Linked DNA regions of Homo sapiens: all the other regions are linked to region 2. Evidence: promoter capture Hi-C in 16 types of primary human blood cells and fetal thymus (Javierre and others, 2016). All regions are on one chromosome and are shown on one strand. Each heading gives the region's core, a stretch centred on a gene start or on the middle of the fragment in contact. The rest is flanking DNA. Distances are from core to core; before and after follow the strand shown.

The links. Contacts are between HindIII fragments. The CHiCAGO score rates a contact against its expected background, and 5 or more counts as called.
Region 1: the fragment with the promoter of ATF7 here is called in contact with the fragment with the promoter of NFE2 in region 2 in 8 of 17 cell types (erythroblasts, neutrophils, naive CD8 T cells and 5 more); the score reaches 12.5 in erythroblasts.
Region 3: the fragment with the promoter of SP1 here is called in contact with the fragment with the promoter of NFE2 in region 2 in 2 of 17 cell types (erythroblasts and megakaryocytes); the score reaches 12.9 in erythroblasts.
Region 4: a contact is called between the fragment with the promoter of MAP3K12 here and the fragment with the promoter of NFE2 in region 2, in 3 of 17 cell types (erythroblasts, megakaryocytes and activated CD4 T cells). The highest score is 13.8, in erythroblasts.
Region 5: a fragment that was not itself captured here is called in contact with the fragment with the promoter of NFE2 in region 2 in 3 of 17 cell types (naive B cells, non-activated CD4 T cells and M2 macrophages); the score reaches 10.7 in naive B cells.

Annotation. Positions count from the first base shown.
Region 1 is chr12:53,624,983-53,627,682 of GRCh38, forward strand. ATF7 (activating transcription factor 7) reads right to left here and starts at 1,400. Exons shown (of 12, transcript NM_006856.3): 1 at 1,297-1,400. It overlaps ATF7-NPFF (ATF7-NPFF readthrough), which reads right to left and starts at 1,400. Exons shown (of 15, transcript NR_159377.1): 1 at 1,297-1,400. RefSeq lists an enhancer at 1,257-1,326. The HindIII fragment of the contact is 3,816 bases long and covers 1-2,178 here.
Region 2 is chr12:54,299,682-54,302,381 of GRCh38, forward strand. It overlaps NFE2 (nuclear factor, erythroid 2), which reads right to left and starts at 1,334. Exons shown (of 3, transcript NM_001136023.3): 1 at 1,120-1,334. RefSeq lists a cis regulatory region at 1,106-2,080 and an enhancer at 1,481-2,221. The HindIII fragment of the contact is 10,882 bases long and covers 1-2,700 here.
Region 3 is chr12:53,378,798-53,381,497 of GRCh38, forward strand. SP1 (Sp1 transcription factor) reads left to right here and starts at 1,379. Exons shown (of 6, transcript NM_138473.3): 1 at 1,379-1,501. The coding sequence starts at 1,495. RefSeq lists enhancers at 472-972, 876-1,175, 1,008-1,302, 2,153-2,700 and a silencer at 1,416-2,045. The HindIII fragment of the contact is 463 bases long and covers 1,059-1,521 here.
Region 4 is chr12:53,498,192-53,500,929 of GRCh38, forward strand. It overlaps MAP3K12 (mitogen-activated protein kinase kinase kinase 12), which reads right to left and starts at 1,267. Exons shown (of 14, transcript NM_001193511.2): 1 at 1,236-1,267. It also overlaps a transcript of TARBP2 not described here. RefSeq lists a silencer at 1,384-1,633 and an enhancer at 2,727-2,738. The HindIII fragment of the contact is 6,087 bases long and covers 1-2,705 here.
Region 5 is chr12:53,697,144-53,699,843 of GRCh38, forward strand. No RefSeq gene overlaps it. Among named protein-coding and RNA genes, the nearest start is that of ATP5MC2, 22 kb to the left of the region's middle. The HindIII fragment of the contact is 7,437 bases long and covers 1-2,700 here.

The DNA of each region.
Region 1 (2,700 bases), core at 150-2,649, 670 kb before region 2:
CACAGGACTCATGTGAGCTTGCTGAGAAAACTCTGCACACCCCCTACACACCTGTACTTAATATGACATGACCCTCAGAGATACTAAAACACCCTCTGTTAAGCAGAAAACAAACTTTTAAAGTTAGGAAAGTAGCAACGCGGGAATCTGGGTAGGAGGTGCCCTGGGTTGTAAACACCCCAGTCAGAGAACATAACAAGCAATTCAGAGCAACATATTAAGTCCCTATGGGGCTCCAACTTGGACTGCTTAAGTCCCAAGACCACATCCTGGTGTCTGGGAAGAGTTTGGGTAATAGAAGAGAGGGAGAAGGAAAATCAGAGAAGCGATGAAAGCGTTCTATTTTTCTCCTTCTCAACCCCCATCCCAGCATCTTGGAGGCTGGTCACCAGTCTGGGTGCCATATCCACCAGAAGCCCTAAATCAATATCCCAACCACCTGATACCTAGGCTAAAGACATGTGTATATCAGCCATCTCCTTCCCAAACACCTCTTATCGCTCTCAAGGCTCATATCCTTCCAGAAGCCATGCCTTATGGCGACTCAGCTCACCCATACTGTCCTCTTAAATTAATTCACTTAATTTTCTCCAAATCCATACTTTCTCTCTGATATCATGTCCCTGATGTTCTTTTAATTAATTCAATCAAAATGCCATGACCCTCATTTCCAATAATCCACCCCATCTATCTTTTCTGCCAAACCCAACGGGGTGTTGTGTCACCAGATCAAGATCTTTGTTCTCATCTACTCATTCCTACCTCCTTCCTATTACCCTTTTCCAATTCCAAGCTCCTAATCCCACTCTTTGGGAAGCCCTGGGTTTCTAACTTAGTTTAGTATCCCTCCTCTTTCTCCCATTCCACCCCATCCCATGATCCTTCCATTAGGCTCCACTAGACTACCCTTCCCTCAGGATTCAATTCCCCTCTCCTTGCCACGCCCTGTGCCCCCCGGGGCTACTTACACCAAGTTCTCCCCACACTTCAAGCCTCTGGCCCCGCCTTCCCCCCAAAGGAAGGAGGCGGGAGTAGGGAGAGAAGGGCGGCGCTCGGCAACGTAAAAGCGATCTCCCATTAGCGCTCATCGCCGCCAATCGAGGCTTCCTTCTCTCCCATTGGTCGGCTTTGGCCTATGCCCCACCCTCTTCCTCAGACAGGGCCCGGCCACCGCCTCAGCGCCCCCGTCCAACACAGACTGGGAGGGGAGACCCCAGCCTGGAACGCTGGGACTGGCCAGAGTTGAAAGGGAGACTCCCGTCAGATCATGGACTAGCTAATGTTAAAAGGACTTACCGGCTGGTAGCTCCGTTGCCTCCCGCCTGCCCGCGCTCGGTCCTACAATCTGTCTCCAGCTCCTCCTTTCCCCCCTTGGCGGAACGGATACTTTCCTCCCGTCCGGCCAGGCGCGCTCAACTCTCGCGAGAAGTCATGGGTCCGCGGGGGAAGGGCGAGATCCGTGGGGGCTGAGTTGGAAAGCGGCCGAGAGGCGGGGGCTCCGGGAAAAGAAGGGGCCGGGCTTACTGTGGGCAGGGCTGGGGAGGGAGACTGAGCGAGTACTGTCCACACAGGTCACACGTGTTCGGCTGCAGAATCTAGCGGGAGAAAGAAAGGAAAAAGGAGAGAGGATCTTTACAGGTGCCTGTAGTGGTGGTTACTACTATCTTTCAGAGTCATCGCTTCCTTAACGGCAAAGTAATTTAAAATACCCTTAGCGCTAGAAATGAAGTCCATGTACGGACAAAGCAATCCACCCGCACAGCAATTCTAACACTACCATTTTACTAGCCCTATTGCCTTGGGTGAAAACCTTCTCTGAGTCTCTGTACAATGGGACTAACAATCTCATTTTATTCAAATAGTTGTAATGATCAAATGAGATACATGAAACTGCTTGGGGATTTTTTAAAATCACTATATTATTCAGCAAATATTTTCACAAAACGTAGGGCATACTACATGCAAAGCATTGTTCTGCAGTCGAATGCTCTATCCCTGAGCTATACCCCCCGTGCAAAGCATTGTTCTAAGCATGGGGTTAAGGAGTTACCAACCCAGGTAGAATTTATATTTGAGTGAGGAAGGGGAGACAGTTAAAAAGCCAATAAACACAAATATTTCAAATAGTGAAAAGCGCTTCAGGATAGTGAGACAGAAGGTGACTAGGAGTGGGGAAGAAGCTTTACTCCTAGTGTTTGAGAGAAGACCTCTTTGAGGAAGTAACACACCAGGAGTTGAATTATGACCTGGGAAGATTTCGGGGGAAATATCAAATGCAAAGTCTATAGTCTTACATTTATATGTCTTGTTCAAGACAAACCAGGAAAAGAAAAAAGAAAAACAAAAAACAGGCTGGGTGCAGTGGCTCACGTCTGTAATCCCAACACTGCTAGGCCGAGGCAAGAGGATCGCCTGAGCCCAGGAATTTGAGACCAGCCTGGGCAACATGGCGAAAACTCAGCTCTACGAAAAAATATAAAATTAGCCGGGCATGGTGGCCTGCACCTGTAGTAGCTATTCGGGGGGCTAAGTGGGAAGATCGCTTGAGCCCAGGAGGTTGAGGTGGCAGTGAGCCCACATCAGGCCACTGCACTCCAGCCTGGACAACAGAGTGAAACCCTGTCTCGATAAATAAATAAAATAAATAATTTTCTTAAAATTTAACGAATTGTAGTTGACTTAAAATATTATCTATGGAAT
Region 2 (2,700 bases), core at 84-2,583:
ATGGAGAGAGGAATACATTTGGCCTTAGCTGCTGCCCCAGGGCTCTTAACTTCCTTAACGAGGGGGAACGATGAGAGGGGGCTTGCCTCAGGATCCCTTTTCTGAGGCTTATTTGACCACCTCACCTCTCCAGGTGTCAATAGGTGCAGTGAAAGGATGAGGAGGGATTAGTAAAACTTGGGGTATTGGTTAACCGGTAAGCAACCTATTTAGAAAGATTAGGGAGAACTCCCGAAGAGAGAGAGACACACAGAGATGAGACAGAATGAAGGGGAAAAAAAGGAGGGAGAGAGATTTAAGCATAGTGAGCTCAGTGCCCTAGGGACATGCATGACTCAAACAAATGTGTGAGAACAAAGAAGAGGGGGACGAGTTTCTGCTATTGTGTCACTTCATCCCTGGACCCCAAACTCCAGTCCTTTGGTACCGATGTCTAGGGGATCCCAGCCCCAGCAGTTCTGATACCTCCTCTCTTCTCTTCCACTGCTTCCCAAGCCCCTATTTCCCAAGCAGCCAAGAGTTCCAGTTAGAAGCAACTATGCTGGGGTTGGGATGTCTTCCTTCTCCCTCCAGGTCCAGCTGATCTCTACTGCCCCTGGGCACAGAGAAGAGAAAGGGCAAAGGAGCCAACAACCCAGAGGCAATCTCCCATCCAACCCCCGCACCTTGCAACACTTCTCAGAGGTTCAGATATCCAGTGTTTCCAATTCCTCAGCTTTCCCTAAACCTTCTCAGCTGCCTAGACAGGGCAGAGTAATGGAATGGAGTTGGGGAAAGGGTAGTCTATTGGTTCCCTCAGGGTAGCCCACCAGTTGAAGGATTCCTCCTGGCTACTCCCCAGCCCCTCAGCGGTGCCTTGCCTCTGGAGACCCCTCTCTGATCCCCATTCACAGCCTCCACCCCAAGGATCCCAGAGCACCCAAGAAACCACTTAGGTCTTCTCCTAGAGGAGTTCCCAAATATGTCAGATTCCTAAACCAGGGGCAATCTAGAAAGTCTGAGGTCTCCTAGGATACCGAAAGTTGGTTATTTTCCCCCCTCACCTCCTTCACCCCCCAGCCTGCCCCTCGGATCTCACTGGAATCCGCCCCCCCCACACACACCCTGCCTTTCAGGCACCTGTGGTGGAGTCACAGCAGGGTGAGGAGAGAGATGAGGCTCCCGGTGTTGTCTCTGGGGAGGCTGAGCCTGAGCTGACACTGCTGGACGAGGATCCCGGCTACCTTTGAGAATCTGCGAGGACCGCGCCCCGCCCCCGGGCCATTGCTGAGCGCTGAGTGTGGAAGCTCAGGCTGAGCTGAGCACAGGAGCCCCAAGCAGGCGCACCAGCGTCTGAAGCCCTCGGCCTGAGTTCTCAGTCCTTCCTCCAACCCTCCCCTTTCCCCGTGGCTCTCCTCTCCTCCTGCCCCTTTCGGCCAAGAGAGGAAACTTGAGCCCGATGTGGTTTCTGCCCACACCCCGCCCCCACCTTGCTCCTGGCCAGCGGGGGCACACATGGCTCCAAGCCTCTCCCAGCCCTCCTTTTCAGCCCAGGAGTCCAGCCAGGTCTGCGTTTCTCCCATGCATTTGACGAATTCCAACCTGATGGTCCACTCGAATGTGACCTTTAAACTTTATACAGGTTGTCGTCGCCTTGTGTCCCCACGGCTCTCCTAGGGACAGGGAAACTGAGTCATATCAAGGTGGAAGGCAGCTGAAGGTAAGGACCAGGTGTCTAGCTTCCCAGCTGTCTAGGCAGTTGGACGTTTAGGGTATAGCCTTCATTTACAGAAAACCTGGGCTCTGGGAACAAGGGCAGGGGAACTATTTGGAGGAGGAGGGGCAACTGACTGCTTTGATGTGTCCTTTCACCTGTAGCCTTCTCCCCTCCCCCCTCAGCCTCAGAAGTCCCAGGACAAAGGATTCTTTCTTGGCCAGGTTTTTGTCAGTGTGTGAAGGGAGTTAGGTGGGGGGCCACCCAGCAGGGAGATTATTCACCTCCCGTAAAGGGGACCCCAGGTGTCCTTTGTCCTCCTTTCTCCCAGGCAAAGCACCCCAGCCACATGGCACCCAACTCTGTTAGGCCAGTAAGTACCCTTATTCATCTTTTTTTTTTTTTTTTTCCAGAGAGGGGCTCACTCTGTCTCCCAGGCTGGAGTGCAGTGGTGTGAACATGTTTCACTACAGTCTCAAACTCCCAGGCTTAAGCAATCCTCCCACCTCAGCCTCCCAAGTAGCTGGTTCTATGGGTCAGTGCAACCATGCCCAGCTAATTTTTTTTTTTTTTTTTTTTTTTGGTAGAAGTGGTGTCTCACTATATTGCCTTGGCTGGTATTGAATTCTTGGGCTCAAGCAATCCTCCCCTCTTGGCCTCCCAAAGTGCTGGGATTACAGGCATGAGCCACCTCACCCAGCCCACTTATTCATCTTTTTGCCTGCAAGCTACACCACCAAAGCCCCAGGTCAAACATCTTTCTCCACAGACTGTGAGAAAAGAGCCTTTCTTCCTCCTAATTTGTAATGGCTTTCAGCTCTATATGTCTAGCTTCAATCCTGACATCTGCAGCTTACATTTTTTCTTCTTACAATGTTCAAGTTAAATTAGAAACATCTGAAGACTGGGGAAGCAGATAGGTGCCACTCTGGAGTAGGACTGGCATTCAACCAGCATGCTCTGATGGGATTGTATTTGCTGTTAAAATAATGAAAATGTTCAGTCCT
Region 3 (2,700 bases), core at 129-2,628, 920 kb before region 2:
AACATAAGAACATATAAGCAGGTGACAACATATAAGATACAAATACTGAAGGACATGACCTCATCGTGTCATTGACAAGCTATTAAGGCCGGCTCCACCAAAACACGGATAAAGAGGAGGCCAGAAATCCAGGTGCCTGCAGTAAAGTTTCTTAACCTTCGTGATTGCAAAAAGCTGGAGCTCAGCTATCTTGCTTTATGCATAGGCGGTATTTACTATTAAGGGGGAAAAAATGGAAGTGACTTATCCGCACTTTAGCCTCAAGGCTTGAAAAGTTAACCAGTCGTTTAAGTGGTTAGCGCCTTTGTCTGGGGGAACTTAATAAAATCGCGTTTTCTGGAGTCTCACGGAGACTCTGCATATTGGTCAGCTCAGTATTAACTTATTCGGTGAGTGCTGTCACCAGATCTCGTCCCGCCTGCATTCCCAGGGCTTGCAGCGACATTGAGGCATCTGCCCGCCTGTCCGACCACCCGGGAGGGGGGTAAGATTTGAGAGGTACTTTATAGGGGCAGTTAAATGAAGACGCAAACAAGTCCTAGTGTTGATGCGGAACTGCGCGCCGAATGCCTTGGCTCTGACACCTGTTGAGCTGCAGGACTCCGCTAAAGCGTCCCACCTAATGACTGTAACAACGTCCCCTGAGGAGGGCCAATATGGCGACGGTCTCCTCTTGGCATAGCCCTCTTCCCTCCCTCATGATGGGCAGCTCCAGTAACGCCCATTGGCTAACTAGGAGGCGGTGCCAGGCCTACTTCGTCCCCTCATTGGATTGAATAACTGAGGGAGCCGCCAATTCTCCTCTGCCACTCCAAGTTTCCGCCCTCAGTTAATTCGGCGTTTAATTGGCTTTTAGTTCACGTCAATATGCGTCCTTTCCTGTCTCTTTTCAGTCTAACTCCAATCATAACGTTCCTGGCTGCCCGCCTGATTTCTGATTGGTTTTAATCAGCTTCATCCTCTCCTATTCCTGCCTACTTCTTACCTCTCCGCCCACTAGGATTTTGCCCAAGCATATCCCGGATTCTGGTTGGCCGTTGTTCTGTCATTCCTATCAAAGCTTTGCCTATCCCTACGTCTCAGGGAGCCCGCCTGCCGGTTGACTGGTTTCCTTCCAAGCCAATCATCTCCAGCTCCCGCCCATCTTCACTTCCTGCATCCTTCATTGGCTTTTAACACTGAGAGGGCGGTCTTTTTAGGCGGACACCAGGCACGCAACTTAGTCTCACACGCCTTGGAGAGCAAGCGAGTCTTGCCATTGGATAATTCCACCGTCTTTCTTCTGCAAGTCCCTCCTTTCCCCCTCCCTCATTGGGCGGGGCAGCAGAGAAGGGGCGGGGCCTAGGTTGGGCTTGTGGCGCGCTGCTCCCTCCTCCTTACCCCCCCCTCCCTGTCCGGTCCGGGTTCGCTTGCCTCGTCAGCGTCCGCGTTTTTCCCGGCCCCCCCCAACCCCCCCGGACAGGACCCCCTTGAGCTTGTCCCTCAGCTGCCACCATGAGCGGTAAGGATGAGTCCACTCCAAGCTTAGGGGTGGGAGGCGAGTGAGGGGGCGCGCGCGAGGGCCGACCGGGCGATCCCCGCCGTGAAGCGGGGGCGGGCGGGAGGCGGCGGCGGCGGCGGCCTAGGTCCCGCCCGGGGCGGAGGGAAGGGAGGGAGACGGGGCAGTGGCGGGGCCTCCGAGGAGGAGGGGGATGGGCCGCCCGCCCCGGGGGAGGGGGCAGCGTGGCCTCGCCCGCCCCCTGCCCGCCCCGGCCACGGGGGACGGGCCTTACCCCCCACTACTCGGCCGCCCGCCTGAGGCTCCTCCCGCCGGGGGCTGGAGCCGCGGGGGCGGCCCGAGCAGCGAAGGCCCCGCCCGGGCCAACCGCCTGCCTGGTCCGCCCTCTGGTCGCCGCCTGCTCCAAGGCCCTCCTCCCCCCACTTTCCGTAGATTTCCCTTCCCCCCCGCCCCCCACCGTCCCGCCCTTTCCACGCCCCTCACCCCGAAACCGCCCTTTCCCTCAGGGCCCGCCCTCCGCCCCGAAACCTTCTGACTACTAACCTGTAGATCCCTTTAGTTCCTTAGCAGTATTCACAAATGTTTTTCTACTCACACTTTTTACTTCTTTTTCCCCTCTCGTTACTTTTCACACTTGGATTTTTGTTTGTCTTTTTTTTTTTTTTTTTTTTTGAGACGGAGTTTTCGCTCTTGTTACCCAGACTGGAATGCAATGGTGCGATCTCGGCTCACTGCAACCTCTGCCTCCCGGATTCAGGCGATTCTCCTGCCTCAGCCTCCGGGAGTAGCTGGAATTACAGGCATGCGCCACCACACCCGGCTAATTTTGTATTTTTAGTAGAGACAGGGTTTCTCCATGTTGGTCAGGCTGGTCTCAAAACTCCCGACCCCAGGTGATCTGCCTGCCTCCGCCTCCCAAAGTAATGGGATTACAGGCGTGACCACCGCGCCTGGCCTCTCCATCTCTTTTAAACTTAATTTTAGCAAGCTTTCCATGCACCCACATGTTGTTTTATGCCTTACCTGTCCTTTTCCTTTTTTTCCCTTAGGATACTTTTTCTTATTTAGAAACTCTCACCATGCCTACCGTCCTTCACATTTCCTATCCCCAAAGCACTTTTTGAATGTTTTCTTAGTTTAATTTTGTACAAGGGAGAATTAAGGCCCACTTTTGGCACATTGAACCTAGTTCATGTCCTGCA
Region 4 (2,738 bases), core at 17-2,516, 800 kb before region 2:
CTAAAGCTCAGAGAAACTTCAGTGTCTGGACAGGAAGGCTCAGGGGGCACTTGAGTCCTATCCTTCCTAAATCCTTTCTGTTAGCCTTAGCTTGGTAGGACCCTCTGGCTGAAACTCAGAGCTCCTAGAGCAATGGAGTCCACCTTGAGAACTGCAAGGGAAATGTGTTTAGAGGGATGCACTGACTGTGGCTTGAGACGACTCTGGGTGGGGTGAGGAGACCTCATGTGCACTCCCTTCTGATTGGAGGCCACTCACCTACGCTCCTCTGAAAAAGGCAGCAGATGAGCATCTACAAGGTAGGACTCCTCCCTTAATTCTAAGGGACACCTCACTGTTTCCTCCCACTGTCTACAGAGCCTTGACTCTTCCCTCCTCTCAGTCAAGGCCTTGGTTACCAGCAAGTCTCAACTCTTGTTTATTTTTAAGCCAATGAGTTTGAGGAGTGTTTGTGGGAAAGGGAGGAGGTTTTTGGAGGGCCTGACTGGGGGAGATGGGTTAGGGGAGCCAGAGGAGATGGAGAGAAAGAGGAGGGAGAAACCCACACGTGAATGGGGGAGGGGAGGATGCAACAGCTGGATGGAGGTGAATGCCACAGCTGGAGGTGAATGCCACAGCTGGAGGGGATTAGGAGGATCACAGCTTGAAGGGGAGGGGGACCAACGCCTGGGCATGCAGGAACAGGTGCTCTCTGACTAATCTTCAGGTCCAGCCTGCTGTGTGTGTGTGTGTGTGTGTGTGTGTGTGTGTGTGTGTGTGTGTGTGTGTGTGTGTGTGTGTGTGTGTGTGTGTGTGTGTGTGTGTGTGTGTGTGGAGATGGTGGGTATATCAGTCCTTGCCCTTCCTTTCCTTCCCTAGAGGGGGCCAAAACTCTCCCTCCTCCTTCCCTCTCTCTCTTCCTGAGGATGAGTGGGAGGAGATGTTCTCTTGCCCTCTGTCCTTTAAGTCTGTCCCCCAATCATCCTCCACCCCACCCCAATACGGTCCTTTCCAGCTCTGGAGGCCCTTCGTCTCCAAGCTGGGCCGCGGCATCCCTCCGCTCCATTCCCTTCCTTCCCAGCCCCACAGGCGTCGGGTCCAGGTCCCCAGTTCCTCCATCCCCACAGCCTCAGCATCCCCACGCCATCACCCCGCACCAGGCCACATCTGCATCCCGACCCTCCCTCCACGCCCGGATCCCAGGACCCAGACCCATCCCTGCCCCCCACCCCCCCACAACTCGGCCAGGCTCTCACCTCGGGGGCTCCGCGGCCGCAGCACAAAAGGCGGCGCTGCTGCAGCTCCGCTCCGGATGCTGCTCCCGCCTCCTCCTCCTTCTCCTCCTCCTTCCCTCCTCCCCCCGCTGCCCTCCACCGGACCCGGGGCGCTGTCACAGGCGATGCTCGTGCGGTGTCCGGATGCACGGGTGTCAGCTTCAGCTTTCTGCCCCCACCCCCCGACCCCTAGCCCCGTCCCTGCTCGGCTTGAACTCCCGCTCCTTCCAGGGCCCCCGCCCCTGGCCCCCCGGGACGGACACGCCCTGAGCGGGGGATGCTGCGATGGAGCCGCCGGCCTCTTAAAGGAGCCCGCTGCTGCCATCCGGCGCGCTCCAGGCTCGTACCTGGCCCGCCTGGGCCCCGCGCCTCCCTGCTGGCGGTGTCCTATGGAGGTCCCACCTCAGGCCTCAGGCTGATTCCACAGGAACCCCCTATGACCCGTCTTATAGACTCCTTTCTACATCGGAGAGAGCAGCCCCTCAGTTGGGATCCCTAGCGCTCTGGCATTGCTCCCCCTATCATACCGATCTTGCCAGCTCTCCTTCCCTTGATTGTCACCACTCACTCCAATTTCACCCACTTGGAATTCACTCGGCTCTAGGCCCCATCCTCCTCCAGTGTTCCTGGATGACCCCTCATTATCATTTCAAGATTCCTCTGGACCTCCAACCCCGGCTCAGAGTAAGACATCTTTCTTGACCCCTTCTCAGAACACTCATTAGAACCTTTTTTTTTTTTAATGTGGTCTCTCCCTTTCTCTCTCCAAGGTCACAAGATTTCCCTCAGCCCAGTGGTTGTGCAACTTTGGGGGAGGAGGCAATGGGGCTCTAGGACTAAACAATGCGCGTCTGCTCAACACCCAGATCAGTTGATTAATCTTAGGCGGCCAAAATTCACTTTTGCTCTCTTCAGCTGAGAGACCCAAGACTCATGGAAGAGGGAACAAGACCACCAAGGTGCCTAGTCCTTCTAATCCTGTCGTCCCACATTACAGCCTGATTATCAGGCCCCAGAGGTTTCCTCGCCAGTTAAAGAGAGGTTCACTAGAGCGGTTCTAAAAAGGTTTCACAAAAGAAGCAACACCTGAAGGGAGGTGAAGGACGACCTAGGAAAAGGAAGCAAGTTCTGTGTCACGGAGGCCCAAGGGCAAGGGGCTTAGGCTGTGGGTTGAGGGGACTGTCTGAGACGGACTTAAACCTGCACCAGCTCCAGAGCCCTGCGGAAACAGAGATCGGTCCCCTCCGGCGTCTAGGTAAGGCCCACCCTCCCAGACCGCAAAGAGCCAGGATCCGACGGCAGCCTCTCCGGACCAATCACAACCTTCCTTCATCAAGGAGGCGGGGTCGGGGGGGGCTGACTTTTCCTTGTCTCCGCCCCTTTAGTCGAAGTAACCAATCTCAGTGCACCTAGGGGAAGTAATCGCAATGGGAGTAACCAATGACGCCATGAAGCTTCTCGTGCGTGCTTGACCCTGCCTCTCCA
Region 5 (2,700 bases), core at 157-2,656, 600 kb before region 2:
ATGGAGCCCATTAAAATGTTGGGAGATTGTTTTTATGATTGAAGTCTGTATTACTCCAACCATAAAGAAAGAGAGCAAGGAGTCATTAGCATTTTCATGATGGTGTATTTCTGCTTGTCTCCGCGCCATCACTCATCTTTACTGCCCGTCCCTTTGCTCTCGCGCTGCTACAACGAGGAGAGACTGCAGCCTGAGTCGGGGCTGGGGATGGGGGGAGATGGGGGCCAGAGATCCGCGCCCCCCACGCCGCTGTGCCCTTCACGCCAAATCCTCACCCTCCCTGAGACGCAGATCGGGGGTGAGAGGCTGGAAACAGACGTAGGGCCTCAGCTTCCTTCTGCGGCTCCTCCTGCCCTTGAAGTGTGGGAGCAGGGGGTCCTGCCCAAATGGTGCTTGGAGATCTGAGCACAGTGGGGTGGTGGGGGGTTACACCCCTTCCTTTCTCTGGCTCTTCACTTGCTGACCTACACTGAGAGCTCTTCAGGGTTATCCACATAGGAGTAAATTCAAGAATTCCTGGCTGAGTGCCTTGGGCTGGAGACATCAGTGTAGGAGAGGGCAAGAGGGAGGAGACCCCAAATCCTTGGGTTTGGAAAACTGGGTTGGCAGGAAGTTGGGAGCCCGGACATTTGGTTTCTGTCTCTGCGATCCCCTAAAGGGCCCTTTGACCTTGCTCCGGGATAAGTTCAAGCCTCCAGTCTCCACCCTGATTCCCCAGCTCCTGCTCCCTCCTAATTCCCTAAATCCTGGACTCTTTCTACACAGTCATTTACAACCAGACCCTCCAGTACTCCAAGGAGCTAATTTACACCCTCCATGCAAATAATGGAGATCAAAATAGTTACTGCCAAGGAATGAGCTTAGAGACAGTTGGCTATGTGTAAAACACTGCCTCCAGATGCCCGAGGATGGTTGGAGTCCCCTGTCCTCATCTCTGTTGTCTTCTTCTTGTTCTTCTTCTTGTTCTTCTTGTTCTTCTTGTTCTTGTTCTTGTTCTTGTTCTTCTTCCTTCTTCTTCTTCTTCTTCTTCTTCTTCTTCTTCTTCTTCTTCTTCTTCTTCTTCTTCTTCTTCTTCTTCTCCTTCTTCTTCTTCCTCCTCCTCCTCCTCATCTTCTTCTTCTTCTCCTTCTTCTTCTTCCTCTTCTCCTCCTCCTCCTTCTTTTTTTTTGAGATGGAGTCTCGCTCTGTCGCCCAGTCTGGAGTGCAGTGGCGCAATCTCGGCTCACTGCAACCTCCGTCTCCCAGGTTCAAGCGATTCTCCTGCCTCAGCCCCTGGAGTAGCTGGGATTACAGATGCATGCCGCCATGCCCGACTAATGTGTGTGTGTGTGTGTGTGTGTGTGTGTGTGTGTGTGTATTTTTAGTAGAGATGGGGTTTCACCATGTGTGTATTTTTAGTAGAGACGGAGTTTCACCATGTTGACCAGGCTGGTCTGGAACTCCCGACCTCAAGTGATCCACCCACCTTGACCTCCCACAGTGCTGGGATTACAGGCATGAGCCACCGCACCTGGCCTCATCTCTGTCTTCTGATAAGACACTAACATATAGAAACATTCATTCCAGGTTGGGCACAGCCTGCCTGCATATCTTATTGCCCCCTATTTGAGTGGGGGTTGGTTGGCATATAGGCTAGGTTAAAGGGTGATGGGGAAGAGGAGGCAGAAGTAAAGGTGGTGAAGTGGAAGTGGTAGCTAGGAAGACATTAAGAGTGATAATAAAAATTAGTGGACCCCCTTCCTGTTGGTCTACTGCTTTCCCATTTTATTTTATTTTATTTTATTTTATTTTATTTTATTTTATTTTATTTTATTTTATTTTATTTTATTTTATTTGAGATAGAGTCTCACTCTGTTGCCCAGGCTGGATCAGGGCTCACTGCAGCCTTGACCTCCTGGGCTTAAGCAATCCTCCTGCCTCAGTCCCTGGAGCAGCTGCATCCACAGGTGCATGCCACCACACCCGACTAATTGTGCTTTCCCATTGATGCCTCACAACAACCTGAGAGGTAGGTTTCATGTCCTCCATTTCACAGAAGAAGAAACCAAAGCTCAGGTTGGGAGATACCCAAGGACAATTAGGTGGTAAACAGAAGAATCAAGATCTGAACCTGGACTGTCTTCATCACCTGAAGCTGCCTGAGAAGGAGTTCAGGGTCTCTAAAGTAGAAGCCAGGATGACTAATAGCTCCATATAATTCATCTGGGTTCATAAGAAAGTGAGGAAGTCTGTCTGGTAAGAGCTTAAGAATTTTGAGAGAAATTTTACTAGAAATATTTATCTCGTGGTGATTGGGTCTAGGTAGTCGGGTAGTTACTATCATTGCTGGGATCTACCTCTCCCTAATCATTTAGTGAACATTTATTAAGCATCTACTATGTGTCTTCTTTTGATTGACCCCACCCTCCCCTTTCTCCACTTCCCCTACTGAGATGGGTACCTAATAGAGTTCTCAGGTCCTGGGCAGGGGTAGAGGCCCAGGAGAAAAGGAAGGTGTGGAGGTGAGAGCCCCCCATAGCCTGCACAGTGCCCAGAGGCGGCTGCAGCGGTGGCTCCAGATTTATAGCTGCCCCGGTACTGATGCAATAAAAGGAAACGATCCTTTTCTGTACTAATTTCTGTGTAATTAGATCTCTCCTGGCATGGAAAGTGGGGAGTGGGGGTGGCCAGGAGGGGAGGGTGCCAAGGACTCTTCACAGA